Regions from separate parts of the Homo sapiens genome. Here regions 1, 2, 4, 5 and 6 are each linked to region 3. The links are contacts of gene promoters, found by promoter capture Hi-C in blood cells and fetal thymus (Javierre and others, 2016). All regions are on one chromosome and are shown on one strand. The core of a region is centred on a gene start or on the middle of the fragment in contact, and the rest is flanking DNA. Distances in the headings are between cores, read along the strand shown. Region 1 overlaps CEP162 (centrosomal protein 162). Region 2 overlaps ME1 (malic enzyme 1). Region 3 holds the start of CYB5R4 (cytochrome b5 reductase 4). Region 4 overlaps SNAP91 (synaptosome associated protein 91). Region 5 overlaps CEP162 (centrosomal protein 162). Region 6 has its middle 42 kb from the start of CEP162.

Region 1 (3,438 bases), core at 694-3,193, 290 kb after region 3:
AAAGTTCCAGCAAAACAGACTTATAAAAGAGCCTATATGATTAATCACTATTCTTGCTGCACTTTTTATGCAAATAACCAAGCCAAGTTTAATGAGACTAGACTTATTTTTGCCATTGGTCTTATTGTGATTATCTCTGATAGAAATGAGGGTGACTGCAGAGAGAAAAATACTGTGCTTCATTAGAAAACTGTAACACACCCTTGTAGATATCAGATTCTAGCCTTGTTTTTTTATCTCTGGGGTTTTGTTATTTACATGTAATCTGGTCTAGATCTCTGTCTATAATTCTCCAAACTAGTATTTCAAATTTTTCTCCTACCCTCCTGCCTTGGAATCACTAAAACATTTAACTGCCCTTTTCCTGAAATCTTAATAAGCTGAAGCTGAATGACTTGATATAAACTGCAGAGAGTCACCACAACAGCTAATATACGGACAATTTTCATGCCTATTGCTGCGTGTCTTATAACTAGACATACTCAAACTGTAAAAAATGCTTTGAGCCCAACATCTAGAACTCTTGACTAGCTGCTCTTAGATTCAGAAATTAGTATACAGACTACTCCTACCATTAACTTTTGTTTTTCTTTTGTTTCCATAGAAATGCCTCTTATTAGATCACCATATAGAGGCCTAACTTTGATGAGAGCTCACCTGCAATATCTCCTGAAATGAGACACAACTGCTTAATTGAATTGACCTATTCTCAGCACTAAGACAATGATTTGATATGGGGCAATGTACTTAAATTTGTTCAGCTGCACTTGTTCCAATCTATGTTTTCCTCTTCCTTTGCCAATCCCTGATCTCACAATCTCTAATCCAAATCTCTTCAAAGCTACCAACTTGGAGAGTTCTAAGCCACCATTTTGAGTTACTTTGTGTTGTGGTTTCTCCTGCATTGTGTGCTGCACGTATTAATAAACTTGTTTTTCTCTTATTAATCTGTCTTTTGTTATGGGGTCTGTCTCAACTAAAAACTCATGAGGGTTGAGGAAAAAATTATTTTTCCTCCCTGACAGTACTTTACTTAACACAGAAATGGACTTCACTATTCAATTTTGTCTCCTGAAGAAAACAAACAGAAAACCCAAACATCTCCCGTCCCATTTTCCCCACTACCCACAAAATCTCAACAGCAAATAAAACATAGACAACTTAATGACTTAATATCTGAACTTCACCTGGGGAAAGCAGATTTTACATAAGCACGCTGCTAATATTTTCTTGACGTGATACTTTCAGGTTATATCTATTTGTACATTTAGGTAAAAAATTTATAAATATGAATATGATTGAAATGCCTAAGAAAAACTTATTTTAGCCCAATATTTTGGCCATTTCTTACCTCTTTCTGTAGAATTTCTTCTCGAACTTCAGAAACTACGAGAGACTCTTGTTTACTCTGCAGCTCATTAACTTGACTTTGGAAATGTCTTATAAGTACCTAGGAAATTGTTAGAAGTGCTGAGTTAATAAAGCTCCTCCTTGAACACTATCTGAAAAATATAAGAAAGCCAACTCACAAAAGGGAACTCTTATATACTGTTGGTGGGAATGTAAGTAAGCACAGCTACTATGGAAAAAAATTATAGAGATTTCTCAAAAAACTAAAAATAGAATTACCGTATTATCTAGCAATCCCACTACTGGGTATCTATCCAAAGGAAAAGAAATTTGTATATCAAACGGACACCTGGCACTTGCATGTTTATTGCAGCACTATTCACAATAGCAAAGATATGGAATCAATCTAAGTTCCCATCAACAGACGAAAAGAAATGTGATATATATACCCAATGGAATACAATTCAGCCTTAAATAAGAGGGAAATAATGTCATACGCAGTTAAATGGATGGAACTGAAGGTCATTATGTTAAGTGAAGTAAGCTAGGCACAGAAAAATACTGCATGTTCTCACTCATGTATGAGAGCTAAAAAACTTGATCTCATGAACACAGAGAATAGAACAATAGATACCAGAGATGGGAGTGGGGGGTTGGGAAGGATGAAGAGAGGTTGGTTATGGGTACAAACATACATACAGTTAGATAGATGAAATAAGTTCTAATGTTTAATAGCAGACCAGGGTGACTGTACTTGGCAACAATATTATGTGTATTTCACGGTAACTAGAAGAGAGAGTTTGAAGTGATACCAAGACATAAAAATGATGAACACTCAAGGTGACAGAAATCCCAATTACCCTGACTTGATTATTACACATTCTTTGCATGTAGCAAACACTCACATGTATCCTATAAATATCTAAATCATTATATATCAATAAAAGGGGGGGAAAATAAATATGAACATTTTTCATGACTAGAAAAAGTCCTTTTAAAATAAAGCTCTATAAAGTCTACACATTTGGAAAAAGGTAGACAATATTATCTTTATACTCTGTGGTTAAGTATGATAGTTTTTATTTAAGAACTATGGCTTAAATATAACATAAGCCTCATAATATCTGTGAAATAAATGTCAGTCTCATATCTTTAGGTAAACTGAAATATATGAACAGATACTTCCATCAAGAAACTAAGAGAAATTGGGAAAAATTTATCTTATCTCTAATGCTGTATTTTTAATGATCAGACTATGCTGATTTCTCTTTAACTCAATTTTACAATATTACATTTATAACGCTGGGAAAATAACATTTATGGCACTATGGCATCATGATACTACTTTTCCTACCTCTTCCAGACTATTCCTTAATACAAAATCACTTGATAGAATGCTTATAGTTGCCCTCTGACACCCTATTCCTATGGAGGATAAGGCCAGAGAGGTTCTCTGTAAGGCTGTATGGATTGTTACTTACGAAAGGCACTTTAAGTATTTTTCATTAACGTAGTCAAATAGTCCTTTTTTTTCTCAGCGATCTGAAGTTAAGTTACAGACTTCATTACATTTTGCCCCTAAATACTTCAAATGCCACTTTGGGAGGTCAAAGTGGGTGGATCACTTGAGGTCAGAAGTTCGAGACCAACCTGGCCAACATGGTGAAACCCCATCTCTACCAAAAATATAAAAATTAGTCAGGCATGGTGGCGTGCACCTGTAATCCCAGCTACTTGGAAGGCTGAGACAGAAGAATCGCTTGAACCTGGGAGGCAGAGGTTGCAGTGAGCTGAGACAGCCTGGGTGACAGAAGGAGACTGTCTCAAAGAAACAAAACCTTCAGATGCTTCAACATACATCTCTTTAGAATAAGGGCATTTCTCACAAAACCATAACATTTTATACCTAAGAAAATTTATAGTAATTTCTTAGTATCTAATAGCCAGTCCATATTCAAACTTCCCGAATTGAGGAATTTATTTTTAATTAAGATGGTATTAAATAATTACACTTGGTGAGATAATTCTTTCTTGATGTTTTTCTCCCTGACCTTCTTTCTTAAAATTGAAGCCTACAGACAAGATGAA
Region 2 (3,455 bases), core at 563-3,062, 440 kb before region 3:
TTCTAAATCCTTAGAACACAGACATTTTATAAATTATGTATAGAGTTTTTGTCTTACATGAACCATTTCCACACAATAATCTTTATTATTAATATTGATTGGTATAGCAACTATGTACCCAGTAAAAAGGGAAAAAATGTTGAGTGTACATTTGGGAACCAATTGCCTGGTATTTTTCTTCTCCGAACTTAAAATCAAGTTAGACTGAGTTTCACACATTCATACCTTAAAAATAACAACCTGAGGGTCTGGTTCTGTGCAAAGTGGTAGCTATAGTATACCTTGTCTCTCCCACTAAATCCAACAATAATCCTTGTATAGAATGCGTTGAGCAGCTATTTGAAGACTGAAAAATACATGATAGCAGAAGAACTAAGGAAGAAGATTAGAATCTAAAGTACGACAAAACCAGATTAAGTTTCCTGGCATTTTTTCCTCCAATATGGCCTGGCTTTTTTTTCTCTCTGCTGTAATCAACTGGCCTTGACTCAAAAGCAGCAGAAAAGCTGGAAGTGCAATTGATTGTGTACAAAGACTGCCAAGAGAAGCCTTATCTTTCTGGTCCAAGAATCAGAAAGGGGGTGCTTAAAGGTCAGAGAAGGAAGAACATCCAATATTCTTTTCCACCTCTCTAGTCCCAACTCCCAGGTAATCCCACGGGGATGGCAGAAGCAATAACCACGACAGATGCCTAAAATTCTAAGGTAAGGGAATCATTCTTTTTACCAGAGGATATAGAGCTGGTCTCAAGATCGTAGGTCAAATGCCTGTTGCAACTTTCTCTCTGTCTTCCAATCGTATGGCATCAGATGCAAATAAATCTGGAGGAAGTACACAGCAGGGCAGGAAAACAAAAGCCCAGTTTTCCGGCCATGAGGACTGGAAAGGGGGTCCTCATGGAAACAAAAAATATCAGAGATCACAGAAAGAAGGGAACTCATGAGAGCAATCCCATAAAGTTGTATATTAACTTCTACACTCACTTTTGAGCTAAACGTGCATAGATTTGACCTTAAACAGCATACCAAAGGCTTTGAGAAGTAAACTATAGCATAGACTACTGCACAGATCCCACACTATCCACTGGGCGGTACACATAATGGACAAATACAAACAGTACTACTGAGTAGACTTTGAAAACCAAATTGATATCGGAACCGCAGGCCACAGGTGGGTCCAACTTGCAAAATCACCTAACCAGGTTGAGTGACCACTAAAGCAAAGAAGAACAGTATTCCCCTTAAGATACAACTGACAGCTAGAATCTCATAATATGCAAATGTCCAGAATAGATTAAAAAATCACTCAACATAGAAACAGGAAAACGTTAACTTGGAAAATAAAAGACTAATAAGCAAACACCAATCCTGAGGTGTCAGACCTTGAAATTTCTGTACAATGTACAAAGACTTACAATCAGTTATTATAACCATGCCTAAGAACATAAGGGCAAAGTCTTTCTAAATAAATGGAAAGAAAGTATTGGACAAGAAATAAAAGCTATACCAAATGGAAATTTTAGAACTTAAAAATACAATAATTATAATAAAATATTCATTGGATGGGCTGAAGAACAGAATTGAGATGAGAGTAGAAAGCATCAGTGAACTTAAAGCTGAATCATTAGAAACAAATCAGTTTGGAAAATAAAGAGAAAACAAGTCCTTAAAAAAGTAGGCCTTTTGATACTATCATATAGTCACCTGAGGCTCAGAGCCTCAGGACAATATCAAAAGGCCTAACATTTGTATCATCAGAGTCCCAGAAAGAGAGGAGAAAGAAAAAAATATTTGGAGAAAATAATGGCTGAAAACATATCAAATTTGATAAAAGACATATACTTACAGAATCAGGAAGCTCAGAAAACCCCAAGAAGATAAACCCCAAAACCTCCAAACCCAGAAACATTATATTTAAGATTCTGAAAGTGAAAAATAAAATACCATTAAAACATCCAGAGAAAACTGATGTATTACAAACATATATCAACTTGAATGACTGCAGATTTCTCATCAGGAAAAAGAAAGGGCGGGAGGAAGAGAAATGGCTTTTTTTTTTTTAGGTCTTAAAGGGAAAGAACTGTCAACTCATTATTATATAACTATTGAAAATATCCTTCACAAATGAAGATAAAATAGACATTCTCAGAGGAAGAAAAACTAAGACAATTAGTTTCCAGCAAACCTGCTTTAAAAAAATGTTAGAGGACATTCTTTAAATGGAAGAGAAATGATACCCCAAAACAAACACAGAACATGGGGAATGAAACAGAGTAACAGAAATAGTATCTACCTGGATAACTCTAATAGATTATCCTTTCCCTCTTAAACTCTTTAAAATATGTGTGACAGTTAAAAACAAAAGTTAGGGCCAGGCACAGTGGCTCAAATCTGTAATCCCAGCACTTTGGGAGGCTGAGGTAGGCAGACACCTTGAGCTCAGGAGTTTGACACTAGATGGGGTAACATGATGAAATTGTGTTTCTACAAAAAATATGAAAATTAGCCAGGAGTGGTAGCACATGCCTGTAGTCCCAGATGCTCAGGAAGCTAAGGTGGGAGGATTGCTTGAGCCTTGAGGTCAAGGCTGCAGTGAGCCATGTTACCACTGCCCTCCTGCCTGGATGACAAAGCAAGATTCTGTCTCAAAAAAAAATGAAAAATAAATAAAATAAAAATAAATAAAAGTTACAGGCCACACCTATAATACCAGCACTTTGGAAGGCCACAGTGGGAGGATTTCTTGAGCCCAGGAGTTTCAGACCAGTCTGGGGAACATGGCAAAATGCCATCTCTACAAAAAAATACAAAAATTAGCTAGGCATGATGGTGTGCACCTGAAGTTCCAGCTACTCAAGAGGACGGACTGAGTCTGGGAGGTCAAGGCTGCAGTGAGCTGTGATCACGCCATTGCACTCCAGCCTGGATAACAGAGCAAGACCCTGTCTCAAAAAAAAAAAAAAAGGTATAAACATTACATTAAATTACTATTTTAAAAATATTTGTGTAATACATATATAGAGATATAAGAGGATATAATACATATAACTACAACATAAATAGAGGAAGGTAATGAGATCTATATAATGGTAAGATCTCTATATTTCAATTGAAGTGGTGAAATTTTAACTTTAAGTTGACTGTGAAAAGTTCGGTATGTGTATCATAATCACCAGACCAAGTACTAAAAACAAGCTATACAAAGAAATATTGTCAAAAACTCACAGAATAAATCAAAATGGAATAATAAAAATATTTAAGTAATTAAAAATTAGGTTGGAAAGGAGAAATAGAGGAATGAAAAATAAGGGAACAGACACCTATGATATGATAGAAATCTGTTTATCTCTCTGTGTATCAACAATTACATTAAATGTAAATGGCCTAAACACAAAAATCAAAAGACAGAGATTGTCAAAAATTGGCAATGGCTACAAGCAAACCTGACTGATTAGA
Region 3 (3,577 bases), core at 365-2,864:
ATTGATATGGAGTCTAAAAAAGTGGAGTCTAAAGGCCAGAAGTTGATAGCATCTTCCATTTCTGTACAAAGGGGAGCTAAGAAATTTGGAAAGCATGGAACATTCTTCAACAATATTAACTTTTCCTTGCTCTGGTTCTCTGCTTTTGATATTCTTATGTAAAAGTTTTCTCACGAGAAGTGAAATAAATCTCAGTGATTAGTTTTTCTTGTGTAGACTCTAGAAGAATATGTCATCATTTAATGAGAGAGAACACAGAAGCAATTTGCAAAGTCAAAGTAATACAGTTAATTATAGTCATGAGGTTCTTTTAGCTCAAATTCAGTCTTCTCATAATAAGCATTTCAATTGCAAATAAAAATGGATAGAGGTGAATGTCATAGGTGGCTACCTTATTTGAATGCTTGTATTTGAATGGCCACATATAGTCACACACTTTTTCTTCTGATTCTGCAAACATAACCTTGATTTTTTAGGCACTTTAAGAACTAAGTAGTTAAACAGAGAAAGTTTAAAGCATGACAATATGTTCAGAGTTAGGAAAAATTAGTAATTAAAGGAGGATGGGGAGGATTATTTAGAACTATGTTTCTTCTCCTGAAAACTTTCTCCCTTATTGGATTCTACTCTCAAGATCTATGTGTTCCCCAAGGGACACACAAAACAATCAATCAAACAAACAAAAACCATCAGATTTTGAGCATTAGAGCCTGGTGTTTACCTGCACAGTGTTGGTCCTTTTCCCATTAATATGTTGGAATAGCACAAACAGCCACTGCCACTTATTCAGTACCTAATATTAATCAGGCACTGCAGTATGTAGTTTACACATGATCCTTTAATCTTTAATAAACCCATTATGCAGATGGGGAAAATGAGACTTTGAGATACTAAAGTAACTTGCATAAGACAGCTCAGTCATTAAGTGCAGGGATGGCATGCAAACCAAATCTGACTTTTAAACGTTACTTCATCACCACAGCTGGAGGTGAGCTGCATCAGTACACAATTCCCAGTGAAGACAGGAAGTTACATAAGGAGGGAGAATTTGTGAGTGGGTGAATAGAGCAGAAGGTGACTTTACTAACGTCTTTCGCGCATTCATTAGCCCTCAGCATGCTTAAAGGTGAAGTTTAAGGATGATTAAAGGTGAGGTTTTCTTCTTACCCCACAGTAGTGGCTGTTGACATTTGATATTTTTGCTCTTAAAGGTGTGAGATGCTCTTTGCATTACAGCCTAGTGCCTTACAGGAAAGAATTTCAGAGAAACTAAAATTCGTTTTAGTCCATATTTCAAGTAGTGTGTTTTAGTCCATATTTCAAGTAGTGTGATGGTACTGCTTAACAATGAACAGACATTGCTGTTCCGGGTTAACAGGACTAAGAATTTGTTCCCACATTCGGTCAGCACCAAGGCTAAGGAACAGCTTCACTCTCTAATCTTTCCACGAAATAGCTGTCACCTTGCTCCGGTGCTGAAGTTCGGGATGCGGAACTAGCTGAGCATGCGTACTTCCTCCCTGCCGGCCCTCCCTCCGTCCCGTTGGCTCCGCCCTCCGCGGACGTGCTGCGTCAGAATGCGCCTCACCCCTGGCGACCCCGGAAGTGGGTCGGGGGCTTGGCCTCTGCCCGGCCACAGAGCCGGAGCTGGAGGTGCTGTCCCGTCTGGCGGCGATCCCCGGGCAGGGCCCGGGGCCGGGGTTTGAAGATGCTGAACGTCCCTTCCCAGTCTTTCCCGGCCCCCAGGTCGCAGCAGCGTGTCGCCTCCGGGGGGCGTAGCAAGGTAAGCGGGTGGCTCCGTGAGTCTCTCCCCTCGCTGCGTTTCGAGCTCTGGCAGTGTGTTCTCTTCTTCCGCCCCAACTCCCAGCTCCTGCACCCCTCTCTAAGCTGTCGTTCCCTGCTGTCCTTGCCTGCAACCTCTTTCTGATCCCACTTTGTCTACAGTCCCTAAACTCTCCTTACCTCCTCCCTTTCCCCTAGCAGTCCCTCTTCTTTCTGGTCCTTTATCCCGCTCTATCCGTTCCCTTCCTCCAAGTCCTTTCCCGCGATTTAAATTTATATGACAGAGCCAGGCACTGTGTTTGCGGTATTATAGGCTCTCGGTATTAGCCGCCTTCCCTCAACCTCATCTTCTCCCTGGTCTTTTGTTCTTCACTGCCTGAAGGAGTTGTACCACATCACTCGATGTGGGTTCCCTCGCAGGAGGGAAAGGCTTGGCAGTGGCGACAGTGACCGTCCGTGCAAGGATGGGGACTTCTGGAGTTGGGGAGCTAGGTCAGGTTTACAGACACTATCCAAGACATACTGCCTTTCTTTCTTCCTCTGGTACCTGATTGTTTTGTCATTGCCTTTTCTACTAGTATCACTTGCTAACTTCGAAGCAAATATAATAATACTCTTGAGTTCTTGTTGAGCACAGTTGCTGTTAGCAACAGGTGGAATACTGTACAGATATATTTTATATTTGCAGAATTCAATAAAAATTGTGTTCTTTGTTCTTTTGCGAATGTTGTTTGTTCCTATTTGTTAGTTCCTCATTCTGTAACCATATCTTTATCTTTCGTTTGTGACACTTCCACTTAACTTGGGCCACTCGGTTAACTCTTGAGTCTTAGCATCGTTTGGAACCCTTATCGATTTTCTTATTTTTCTCCACTTAGACCTGGCGTTCTGATTCTAGTTCAGAATGAATATAGGTTCAGGGATCTGTGGTTTTCATTAGCTTTCCAGAGATTTCTTAAGTACTTACGGGTGGCCGTGTATATTCTCAGTGCTTTGCATGTATTAACTTTAATTTTCACAATTATCCTTTGAAGTGAAAGCTTTTATTGTCTCTATTTCGCAGAAAAGGAAACTGGCTAAGAAATATTGCCCTAAATTGCGTAGGCTTGTGTTGTGGTTCTGCTGTGAAATTTCATTTACTGATTCATATATCAATCATCTAGCCATCCAATCATGTATATTTTTCTCATTGGTTTTTGACCTATTTCTTGAAGCTAAATACTTGACTGAATAACAGTCTTTCCAGAAAGAATCTCTGAATTAGAATATGAGTTACTGCCCTTCTTCGTTAAAAATACCAACTGTGTTCTTAGCATCCATTTAAAGGAGAAAACTTAGAAGCAAAGACAAAAAGTCACACAGGGGGCGATGGCAAAGGTGAGTTTTTGGTCCAAAAAGAGAACAAAATAAGATTATTGTGCAATTCTAAGGAAAAGTCAGACTCCAGTCTTCTTCCTCTTTTCTTTGTGAAACAAGATGATGCTGAGAATGTAAAAACTGAGTCAGGTTTGGATGAAATGGGTAGAGGTTGAGAAAATAGAACCAAGTTGGGAAGGTCGTGTATTATACAAAAGGTTCTCAAATAGTGTTGTTTCATTCAACAGCATTTAGTTATAATATTGATGAGAAAAAAAATTCGTTTTGGCCAGGGCCACTGTCTTTGGAGTTTGCATGCTCTGTGTCTGCGTGGGTTTTCTCTGGGTACTCTGGTTTCCTGCTACAGCCCAAAGATATGCAAGTTAGGTTAATTGGTGTGTCTAAATGGTCCCAGTCTGTGTGAATATTGGGTGTGTAT
Region 4 (3,326 bases), core at 6-2,505, 270 kb before region 3:
CACAAAGTGCTGGGATTATATAGGCATGAGCCACCGTGCCCGGCCACAAGAGTGCAATTTTAAAACTACTGCTAAAGACACTTCCACACAGGATGATAGAATTGATCCTCTGTAGACTTTTACCTTTTATAGGAAATTGTTACTTTTTAATGCCACACTGGGCATGTTTGTATTTTAAATTCAGTTCAAGGACTTCTGTGGCTCATTTTAAGCAATTAATGTGGTTAAGAGAACAAATGCAAAACTACAAAGGGCCTCATAGGCTGGACCATATAGTCCCTTGTCTTTGCAATTAAAGATAGGATGTGAAATTCTCTTATACTAGTACAGATTTATAGTGCAGTCACCCTAAAATTGTGTCTATGATGGAAAAACATGGTTGTCCTGCTCGATGCCAACCTCAGATGTTAGGCATATTCCTCAACACACCTAACTTCCTTAACAGTCCATTTTTACCTTTGTCATCCAGTAGTCTGCCTCTAGCTTTCAAACATCTGTATTTTCAGTTGGTATATTTTGAGCAGAGTTTGACAGCTTTACTCTTCACTGTATGAAATATTTACTTTTATTATTTAAAAACTTAACTTTCAAGTTTTCATTCAGATGTTACCTGAGATATGGATAATATCTGTATCCTACCAGTAATCTCAATGGCTTGGAAAGAATTACTCATTGTTGTTATGGATTCTCCCCTCTGCTTCCCCCCACCCCCATTATTCCTTCCTTTCTTCATTATTTTGATAATGATTTTTCTAGTCTGGCCTCTTTGGAAGTTGTCCTCTCCAGAATTTTTTATCATTTCACTATACTGCATGCACCAAACACCTTAAAATTTTTACTCAAGGGGTAGAAGACGACTAAGGCAATATTTCAAGTGCTGTTTAATTCTGGAATTGGTATTATCTGACAGTTCTAAAACTGAATTTGAATAAAGAAGAATAGTTTTTATGATAGATAGGTTCATTTTCAAGACTATCTAGTTAGTCTTTGTTTTCAAGTTTCAAAATGATACCAATTTTTAACAAAGCTTTCGCCTCAATTTTAAAATGGTTCTTAATGTTTAGTTTAAAATCTCTAAAATCATTTTAAAATTTAATTATATCATATATTTATTGCCTTATCTTTATGATTCACATGTAAATGTATTCACTCAAAAAAATCTAATCTTAGGCATGGGGTAAGAGTCCTTAGTCCAGTGACCAAGGTTCCCTTTGAACAGTCTAAACCTCCCATGACAGTGTCTGCATATTATTTTTCTTTTTCATTCTTTCTCAAAACAGTTTTATTACTAAAGGCAATCACAGGATTCTAGAGAATCTTTTTCTCTCTTCTCTCTCTTTGATTCTGATCATATTTGTGGGCTTGCTATGTATGACTAGGCTCATTTATTTATTTTTTTTTAAAAATCTTCTTAGTTTCAATAGACTGTGGACTTAGCTGATCCCTCCCCCAAATAAACACAGACACAACTATAATACAAATGCTAAGCTTCACTGCAAATTACTACACACAGTGCCCCAAATATTTGTCCTACTTAATATGCATTAAATAAAAATGTACGAGAATTGTGAAAACTCAGAAACAGCCAATTGTCAGCTAGGTTACAAATATAAATGTGACTGTGGTTTTATATTGCGTTTATTAGCAGAATTTTTTTCATTTTTTATTTTTTTGTTTTTGGCTAGGAAAGTTGCTCCTAGTTCACAGGATAGAATTATATTAATATTCCATGATGTTCTTTAGTGAGAATATGACTTCCTTATGCTTTGATACTTGAACAAGCGTGAGAAATATTTTTCTATAAGAAAACAGGGAAGTATGAAAAATTAGCCCCCAAAATTAAGCCCTATGGAAATTAAAAGTTAAAATTTCTTATGCTAGCTTATTTTTGTTTTTTGTTTTCAGTAGAGATTAGGGTTTCACCATGTTGGCCAGGCTGGCTCAAACTCCTGACTTCAAGTGATCCTGCCCATCTGGGCCTCCCAAAGTGGTGGGATTATGATTGTGGGACACTGCATCCAACCCCTTATATCAGGATATAAGGTGAAATAATATTTCACATTGTGCCAAATAAATCAGGCACTGACATATGTATACATTAAATTACAAGAACTGTTTTGAAAGCAAATGAGACATTAAACTCATCTATACTGATTTACATTGAATATTAATTTATTTAAATAGAAAAGAGAGAAATAAGAAAGTGTACACAATATATAACTTTGCCTATCACTGAAAGAGTCACAAGAAGATGCAGTAGAAGAAATGGAAAGTGTGTAGTAAATGAGACCTATGTAGATGACATTGGGTACTTTCATTGATGATTTTCTCCTCTTTTCTACCCCATTTTAATAAGATTTCAGAATAGACAACACAATTGAATAATTTTATTTTTTGTAAAGTGAACTAACATACTTTTTTTGTAGACTTCCCCTGCTGGACCTGTCCATATACCAAGCTGTGCAGCTGTGGCACAGGTATGTGCAGTTACACCTGGCAGCAGGTGACAAACCCCTTCAGGCTTGTTCTAGATGTGTTTTTAGATTCTTATTGCATCCCCCAGGGTCAAATCTCTTGGCTCTGTTACTGACTTCTAACTTGGAATTGGATGGGAACACTCCCTTTTCCCACAGGAAAAGGCCTTTCAGCTCCAGTTTCTAGTGTTCTGGGCTCTTTGAGAAACACAATATCTCAGGTTCTAGCCTTGGAGGACACAGAGAGGCCACAATGGAGGAGGATCCTGGAGTAGACAATGTGGCTGTGTAGCACTGGAGGTGGTCAACAGTGGCTGACCGCTCTGCCAGGCTACTGTCTGGTAGGCTTCAAATTCCCATTTGAGATCTGTGGCAGGGGATGGGATACCCAGGAGAGAAAGAAAGAATTCATAGGCTTCTGTGAAAGGCCAGAATATTTGATTTTATGGGCCGTTTTAATCTTAATTATAACTTCAAAGCAAAATGTTTGTAATCACTAATCTCATTTTAAAGTTAACAAGGTCATGATCCCTCAAATAGCCATTAAAACTATGCTATTTCTGTGGCATGTTAAAATCTTATTGCTGAACCCCCAAAATGTGTATGAAGTTTATTGGTTTAGTAAGAGTTTGAAAGTTTCTGTAGCCAATTGGAAGCTGATATAAGAATATCTAGGCCTGGATAAAAGCCAGGCAAACTAGCAGTTTATTTCTCCAAGTAACCAGCTGTGGTTTGTGTTAAGTGTACTGCCTCTTATCATCTCTGCAACTTCCAAATATTCCATGATGTTCTTTAGTGAGAATATGATTTCCTTATGTTTTGATACTTGAACAAGGGTGAGAAATATTTTTC
Region 5 (3,708 bases), core at 133-2,632, 340 kb after region 3:
TCCCAGCACTTTGGGAGGCTGAGGCGGGCGGATCACAAGATCAGGAGATTGAGATCATCCTGGCTAACACGGTGAAACCTTGTCTCTACTAAAAAAATACAAAAAAATTAGCCTGGTGTGGTGGCAAGCGCCTGTAGTCCCAGCTACTTGGGAGGCTGAGACAGAATTGCATGAACCTGGGAGATGGAGCTGGCAGTGAGCCAAGGTAGCGCCACTGCACTCCAGCCAGGGTGACAGAGCAAGACTCCATCTCAAAACAAAACAAAACAAAACAAAAAAATAGATTTCAACTGAAGATGTGCATTCCACTGCTTTAAAAAATTTTGAAAAGGCATTATCTCAAAGACCTTTATAAGCTTTAGGAAAGTCTAGTTGGTCTCAGGTATTTCAGAATTTGGGGATGGGGTGTAGCTTTTTCCTAGAGAAAGAACTATGGAAAAGCACAATAAGACCAAAGTCCCATTTCTCCTACACATGGCAGATTTAACTGAATACTCTGGAGAGGCATAGAAAATTAGTTAACGTTCACCTACAGTGCTACACTATTATCAACAGCATTTATTCATTTATTAACAAATATTTATTTAAAACCTCACTTTACTTGGCCTACTAGCATTGTGTCACCATCAGCAAGTTCCAATTATTTAAATTATTATTATGGTAGAAAAATGTCAGATTTAAAGTTTTCATTATCAATATAGTTATTATATATATATTTCCTTAGAAATGTAGTCATATTAGTCATAAAGCATTCCATATTTAGAGAACAGTCAGGTTTCTAAACATTTTTACCTGTTCCTGTCATTTCATTCTCAGTCATTTCTGGTAGGCACCTTGGCTTAGGTGTTATTTTATCTTGTTCATCAAGATTGACCTCTGCAACAGAGTCTAATGAATCAAGCAGCACAACTGGAAGAATATAAAAGAAAAATATAAGGAATGTAGATAAACTCAGTGGTTCTGTTGATCTAATACAATTATTTTAAACATATGCAATGCAGGCCGGGCGCGGTGGCTCACGCCTGTAATCCCAGCACTTTGGGAGGCCAAGGCGGGCAGATCACGAGGTCAGGAGATCGAGACCATCCTGGCTAACACGGTGAAACCCCGTCTCTATTAAAAATACAAAAAATTAGCCAGGCGTGGTGGCAGGCGCCTGTAGTTCCAGCTACTCAGGAAGCTGAGGCAGGAGAATAGTGAGAACCTGGGAGGTGGAGCTTGCAGTGAGCCAAGATTACACCATTGCACTCCAGCCTGGGCAACAGAGCGAGAGTCTGTCTCACAAACAACAAACAAACAAACAAACAAACAAACAAAATGCAATGCATATTAAAACAAAGATAAATGCTTATATACAAAGAATCTATAAACTTATATATGTATATATGTTACAAGCATGTTTTATCTATGTGTGTGTGTGTGTATGTATATAACAAATATGATCTTCTTCCGATGTAGAAGACAGTAGGCTAACATCAACATACATATCTATGCTTATGAACAGCCTAGTATACATGTACACATGGAAGGCAAAGGGCATAAGAAAAATAACAAAAAAAATCTTAAATATAACAGAATGGATTCAAGATAGAAACACATTATTGAGAAAAGCTAGGAACTTCAATGCCTTAGAAATATTTAAAAACAAACACAGATAGTGACTCATTCAGAATTACTGAGATGAAATTCTGAACAGACTAATTTTTTGCCAACTAAAACATGAATATAAATAATATTTACCATTAGCAAGCATGCCAGTTTTTTCTTCTTCCTAAATTAAAAAAGGAAAATGATGATATGTTTTGAAACCAAAATTATGTAAAATTACCACAATGCAAATAATAGCAAAATCTGAAATCCAGGGCTTTTTATTCCACATTGAAACGATCAGGAACTGTGTTTTCTAGGCTTCTTTCACCACTGACTCTCATTTATCAATAATTCTTCAAGACTAGCTCTGACAGAATGTCTAAAATTCTCTTCTAAAACTTGGCAATTACCAAAATTAATTTAGACCTTAAAAATTCTTGCTTAAAGTATTTAAGTTCCATTTGCTCATCTACCTTGCTCAAGAATTCTCTGGTTTTTTTGAATGTCAAGATAACAGAGCTATTTCACACAAGAGTTCTGCAATTATAGCATTACCAGTCTATTTTCCCTTACTGTTCAAAATTAATGACTAAATCTTGTACTCATTATTTCATCTATGTTTCAAAAGATACAACTTTCAGAAAGACAGGCCACCAAACAGCTAGACAGCTGAAGTTCTTCAATATTAGAGGTTCCCTTAGAATAACTTTTCCTATTAATATCACCTATACCTCCTACTTGGGTAGGCAGTTTGTGGGACCTTCCAATAACAGAGCTTTAATCCCTTCCTATTTTGATTCTTACCCAGACAGTGCTCTGAAGCTTCCACAGTTAGGCTGATACCTTTTTATGCATATGGTACACTTTCTAAATATACCACACTATTATGCCTTGTACTGACCTATTCATTTTTCTTTTCTTTTCTTTCTTTCTTTTTTTTTTTTTTTTTTTTTTTTTTTGAGACAGGGTTGCGCTCTGTTGCCCAGGCTGGAGTGCAGTGGCTCAATCTTGGCTCACTGCAACCTCTGCCCCTGGGGTTCGAGCAATTCTCCTGCCTCAGCCTCCCGAGCAGCTGGGACTACAGGCATGTGCCAACCATGCCCGGCTAATTTTTTGTATTTTTAGTAGAGAAGGGGTTTCATCATGTTGGCCAGGCTGGTGACCTATTCATTTTTCAATAAAATATTGTAATTGCCATATTCCAAGTATAAATCTCATTAAATTTCTAAGGATATTCATCAATCACATTAATTTCTATGTTATTTCTAAGGTCATCTCATTTTTTCCTCAAAACTGAGTGACATGTAGACACCCCAGGACCAAATACTAAGTAAACTTGAAAATAAGAAGATTTATAGACACCTGAAAAGTGTTTCTTTTGAGTCCACGTTTTCATTCATGTTAAAAACATCTAGTCCTAACACACAGTACCAAAGAGACTGTGCCCAGATAGAGACCAAAATAATAAATAGTAATAACACATAACAAAACAACAATATTAATTGTTCTACTAGCTACTATTAGATAGCTTCAAAGATAAGTTCTATAAGGTAGGCAATATGAAGTAGTAGCCCTGAACAATTCTTGGTAAGAACTGGGAAATGTGAGAATTAGAGTATGAAGCACCACTGAATGTGAATGGAATCATGTAGTTCCTTATCTTAGCCAAGTAAGTTTCAGACGTTAATGTTGTGACTAGCATAATTATTAGGGAAGGACATTTACTATACTTCATAAAGGCAAGTCATACCAAAGAAAAAGTATAAGTTAACATACTTGTTTAAAAATTAGTTTTGAAATTTTAATTAAGCTTTCAATTTCTAAAGCTTAACTTAAGCTTAACTTATTTGCCAAAATAAATCTTTTTTTGTTTGTTTGAGACAGGGTCTCACTCATCAACCAGGCTGGAGTGCAGTGACATGATCACAGCTCACCGCAGCCTTGACCTCCCTGGCTCAAGTGATCCTCCCACCTCAGTCTCCTAAGTAGCTGGGACTACAGGCATGTGCCACCATACTTTGCTAATTTTTTAAAAATTTAATTTTTGGAGAGATGAGATCCCACTATGTTGTCCAGGTTGTCCTTGAGCTCGTGGGCTCGAACAGTCCTCCTGCCTCA
Region 6 (3,430 bases), core at 664-3,163, 410 kb after region 3:
ATAGATTTTTAAATGTGACTTTTGTGCAACCAATATTGAGAACTATTGGGTCTTTGTATGGACAAATGTGGTCCATTTTCCTGGGGCATGAATTCTACTCAAATATGTAGAAGAAAATGTTAGTTTTATTAAGACAAATTCAGGTATGTTATAGATTTTTTCACTCACAATTTACATAAATTTTAAAGATTAATTCCTAAGACTTCAAAGAAATTTCTTGCTTGTGTTGGCTTTTTTACTGACCAACTTAGTCTCTCTTTGGAAATTCCACAGTAAAGTAACAGTAGTGGAAGTTTTGGGAAGCAGTACTAAAATTAACATCATTCATTGTAGACAGTATAGTCATGAAACAAAGACAAACTTTCGTATTTAATGGCAGAAATGAAAATGGAAAATCATTTAATGAAAAATAGGGACCTTATATCAATATTCACTTAGCAAGTAAATCACTCAAGAGACATGCATACCAGGACATCTTAGGCTCTGGTGATATACAGATCAATTGAATTGCAGAAGCTTGCAGGGTACTAATATGTATTAGGCCATTTTTACATTACTATAAAGAAATACCTGAGACTGGGTAATTTATAAAGAAAATAGGTTTAGTTGGCTCACAGTTCTGCAGGCTGTACAGAAAGCATGATGTTGGCATCTGCTCAGCTTCTGGGGAGGCCTCAGGAAACTTACAATCATGGTGGAGGGTGAAGTGGCAACAGGCACATCACATAGTCAGAGCGGGAGCAAGACAGCCAAGGGGAAGACGCCACACACTTTAAAACAACCAGATCTCGGAAGAACTCACTATGGTGAGAACAATAACATGTGGATGGTGCTAAATTATTCATGAGAACTCTGCCCCCATGATCCAATTAGCTCCCACCAAGCCCCACTTCCAACAATGGGGATTACATTTCAACATGAGTTTTGGGTGGGGACACACATCCAAAGTATATTATAGAAGGAATAGTCATATAGATATAATTATAATGCAATGTGGTCAATGCTGGAAAACAAGGATGTAATGTGTGCCAATGGAGTACAGAGCACTAACCCTGATGATTTTGAAAATTAAGAGTGGGGACTAAAAACTGGCAGAGATGATAACATACATTTGTATAGTACTTTATGGTTTCAATGCATTTTCAGATGAATTTTTTGTTTGATGGTCCCCAGGCACTTTGAGGGAGAGCAGATTACTTCTAACAAATTAGGAAAAATTAGAGATTTGCCCTGTGTCACTTCACTAAGTCCATGCTCTGGTCTTCTATTTTCAAATCCATTATATCATCTTCCATTTATGCTATTTAAATATGACATCACTGGTGTTAGAAAATAGGAGACACTTAATGTTATTTATATTCTTTTTTAAAAAAAGAATAAATGTTAAATTTATTTGGATAGGAACAAAATTTTTTACTTTTTAACACTTTTCATAATACCAGCATGATGCTTCTAACAAAGTGACAAAATTGCTGCTTGACTAATAGATGAAATGATTTTGTCAGTATTGAATACTGATGAAAAAACCTCTGCCAATCAATGCTTAATCTGTCTGATGAATAAAATTTATCTTTCTTTTGAAATATTTAAGGAGTCTTTTTCATGGTTAAAGGTTAAAGCCTGTCTCATTGGTTTCCTTAAAAATATGTTTTTCAACTTGCAGTCTGTGTGTTATTATAACAAATAAAAACATTCTTAAAAGCCCTGGGTAAGCTTTTTCCTTTAGATAAGTGCTATGCTACTAGAACATATGACATCGTATTTGGCCTCAATGTTTGGAAATGAAACGGTAGAAAAATGACAAGCTCTAGTGGCCACGTCATCATAGGGAATAAAATTTAAAACGACTGACGAAGTTTGAGGAAACTGACTATTTTTAAAATTGTACATTTATCATGACAGTTTTGGGGCTAATCTCTGGAACCAGCACAAGGATGAATGAGGTAATATTTGCACATGTTGTGGATAAGATAACCAGAGTGGGGGAAAGTCCATTTCCAGGCTAATGTGCAACTAAGATTATATGCTTGATGGCTGGAAACTGCTGTGTGGTTAGGATAATATAGGTTAAAAAAATGATGCTGATGGAATGGTGAGCAGTTACCCTGGATCTGAAGCTTTCTGAATGGAGGCATGAAAAGAGGAGGCAGGGAAAGAAGTAGGTAGGAGCACACCAAGAGAAAGATTTGGGAAGCAAGAAAATGTGGAGTAAACTACCAAACTCCCTCACAGAAATGACATAGTAAGGGTTGGCAATTAAAACTTCAGTGAAAAGTGAAATCTCATGGTAAACCTAGCTTAATGCTGTTCATGTGTACATTAGAGTATGAAGGGAGATTGTAACACTGATTCCCATTCCTTACTACCCAGATGTTATTACCATCAGAGAAATGTTCAGAGGTCTTATTTGGACCCACTTTGGTTTATTCTGTGGCTTTGAGGAAGGGGAAAGAAAGCATTGTGAGGGACGTGTTGACTGAAATGGGCCATTAATTTCATGTCTCTTTTGTATAAAGCACTTTTAAAGTGTGCCAAGGCATTTTAAGTGTTTTAACAACATGCTTTTGTGACAATAGAGAAGCAAGGGTATTTTTTCATGGTATCAATAAAAATATCATGGTAATTTACAGGGTTGAACTGGACACTAAATTGGCTCACAATGGAGTTCTTTCAATGTGGACAGAGATAGAAGCAACCTTTATTTTATTCCTGAGCCACTGAGATGAGAATAAACATGATCTCTGTTTGTCTCCATGATCTGAAATCTTGTTTGCCAGGGGGGTTGAGTTTTATGGAGGGTCCCCATTTTTGGAACTCTCTTTTCTCTACCCAACAGATCCCAGATTTACAAGCTTTGAGGACTTAGAAGGAAAGAAAAAAGGCATATTTGTTTCTTTCTTAACTGGTGTAGGTTTCCAGATGGTATTAGATGCTGTTATTGGCTGAGAAGAAACACTTGTTTTTGTCTTAGTCTTGTACTTGGGTCTGCAAACTTGGCAAATGGCTCACTTTGAATATCTAAACAAATAAACAAAGCATTTTCAGAATTTGCTGACACTCAGTATCCTATCCTTCTCAAATGTTGCCAGATGCAAACACCAAAGGCCAATTTCTTTAGTTTCTGCTCTGCTCAGAATTTCTTTAGAGAATTACACTGGTGAGAATTTTATATCTGGTTCTTTACATTAATGTGTGTGTGGATACATGATTCCATGGCTGTTCACTGATGAGTTAAGTTGCATCTGGAAACAAGATAGAAGTTTGTGAGTCATGCCTGATGGAGCACTTTCATATTAATATCACATTATGTATGTTTCTACTATTCAAGATATGGCAGCAGCTACTCTGGGATGCAAAGATATTTGAGACCAAGTTTCTGACCTGAAAGTATCCATAACATTATAGAGATACTGATGAATACATATACCAC

What was found. Contacts are between HindIII fragments. The CHiCAGO score rates a contact against its expected background, and 5 or more counts as called.
Region 1: a fragment that was not itself captured here is called in contact with the fragment with the promoter of CYB5R4 in region 3 in 1 of 17 cell types (M2 macrophages); the score reaches 6.3 in M2 macrophages.
Region 2: a fragment that was not itself captured here is called in contact with the fragment with the promoter of CYB5R4 in region 3 in 1 of 17 cell types (monocytes); the score reaches 5.8 in monocytes.
Region 4: a fragment that was not itself captured here is called in contact with the fragment with the promoter of CYB5R4 in region 3 in 1 of 17 cell types (monocytes); the score reaches 6.4 in monocytes.
Region 5: a contact is called between a fragment that was not itself captured here and the fragment with the promoter of CYB5R4 in region 3, in 9 of 17 cell types (non-activated CD4 T cells, megakaryocytes, naive CD4 T cells and 6 more). The highest score is 7.1, in non-activated CD4 T cells.
Region 6: a fragment that was not itself captured here is called in contact with the fragment with the promoter of CYB5R4 in region 3 in 1 of 17 cell types (megakaryocytes); the score reaches 7.3 in megakaryocytes.

Annotation. Positions count from the first base shown.
Region 1 is chr6:84,145,336-84,148,773 of GRCh38, forward strand. CEP162 (centrosomal protein 162) reads right to left here. Exons shown (of 27, transcript NM_014895.4): 25 at 1,352-1,450. It also overlaps a transcript of MRAP2 not described here. Among named protein-coding and RNA genes, the nearest start is that of CEP162, 81 kb to the right of the region's middle. The HindIII fragment of the contact is 6,999 bases long and covers 1-3,438 here.
Region 2 is chr6:83,421,149-83,424,603 of GRCh38, forward strand. All of the region lies in intron 1 of ME1 (malic enzyme 1), which reads right to left. Among named protein-coding and RNA genes, the nearest start is that of ME1, 8.2 kb to the right of the region's middle. The HindIII fragment of the contact is 3,920 bases long and covers 1-3,455 here.
Region 3 is chr6:83,858,075-83,861,651 of GRCh38, forward strand. It overlaps CYB5R4 (cytochrome b5 reductase 4), which reads left to right and starts at 1,615. Exons shown (of 16, transcript NM_016230.4): 1 at 1,615-1,783. The coding sequence starts at 1,709. All of the region lies in intron 3 of RIPPLY2-CYB5R4 (RIPPLY2-CYB5R4 readthrough), which reads left to right. RefSeq lists a silencer at 1,686-1,735. The HindIII fragment of the contact is 3,476 bases long and covers 1-2,820 here.
Region 4 is chr6:83,586,105-83,589,430 of GRCh38, forward strand. The region is part of intron 22 of SNAP91 (synaptosome associated protein 91); the gene reads right to left. Among named protein-coding and RNA genes, the nearest start is that of PRSS35, 75 kb to the left of the region's middle. The HindIII fragment of the contact is 461 bases long and covers 1,026-1,486 here.
Region 5 is chr6:84,199,997-84,203,704 of GRCh38, forward strand. CEP162 (centrosomal protein 162) reads right to left here. Exons shown (of 27, transcript NM_014895.4): 8 at 1,741-1,771; 9 at 793-909. Among named protein-coding and RNA genes, the nearest start is that of CEP162, 26 kb to the right of the region's middle. The HindIII fragment of the contact is 2,056 bases long and covers 355-2,410 here.
Region 6 is chr6:84,268,257-84,271,686 of GRCh38, forward strand. No RefSeq gene overlaps it. Among named protein-coding and RNA genes, the nearest start is that of CEP162, 42 kb to the left of the region's middle. The HindIII fragment of the contact is 404 bases long and covers 1,712-2,115 here.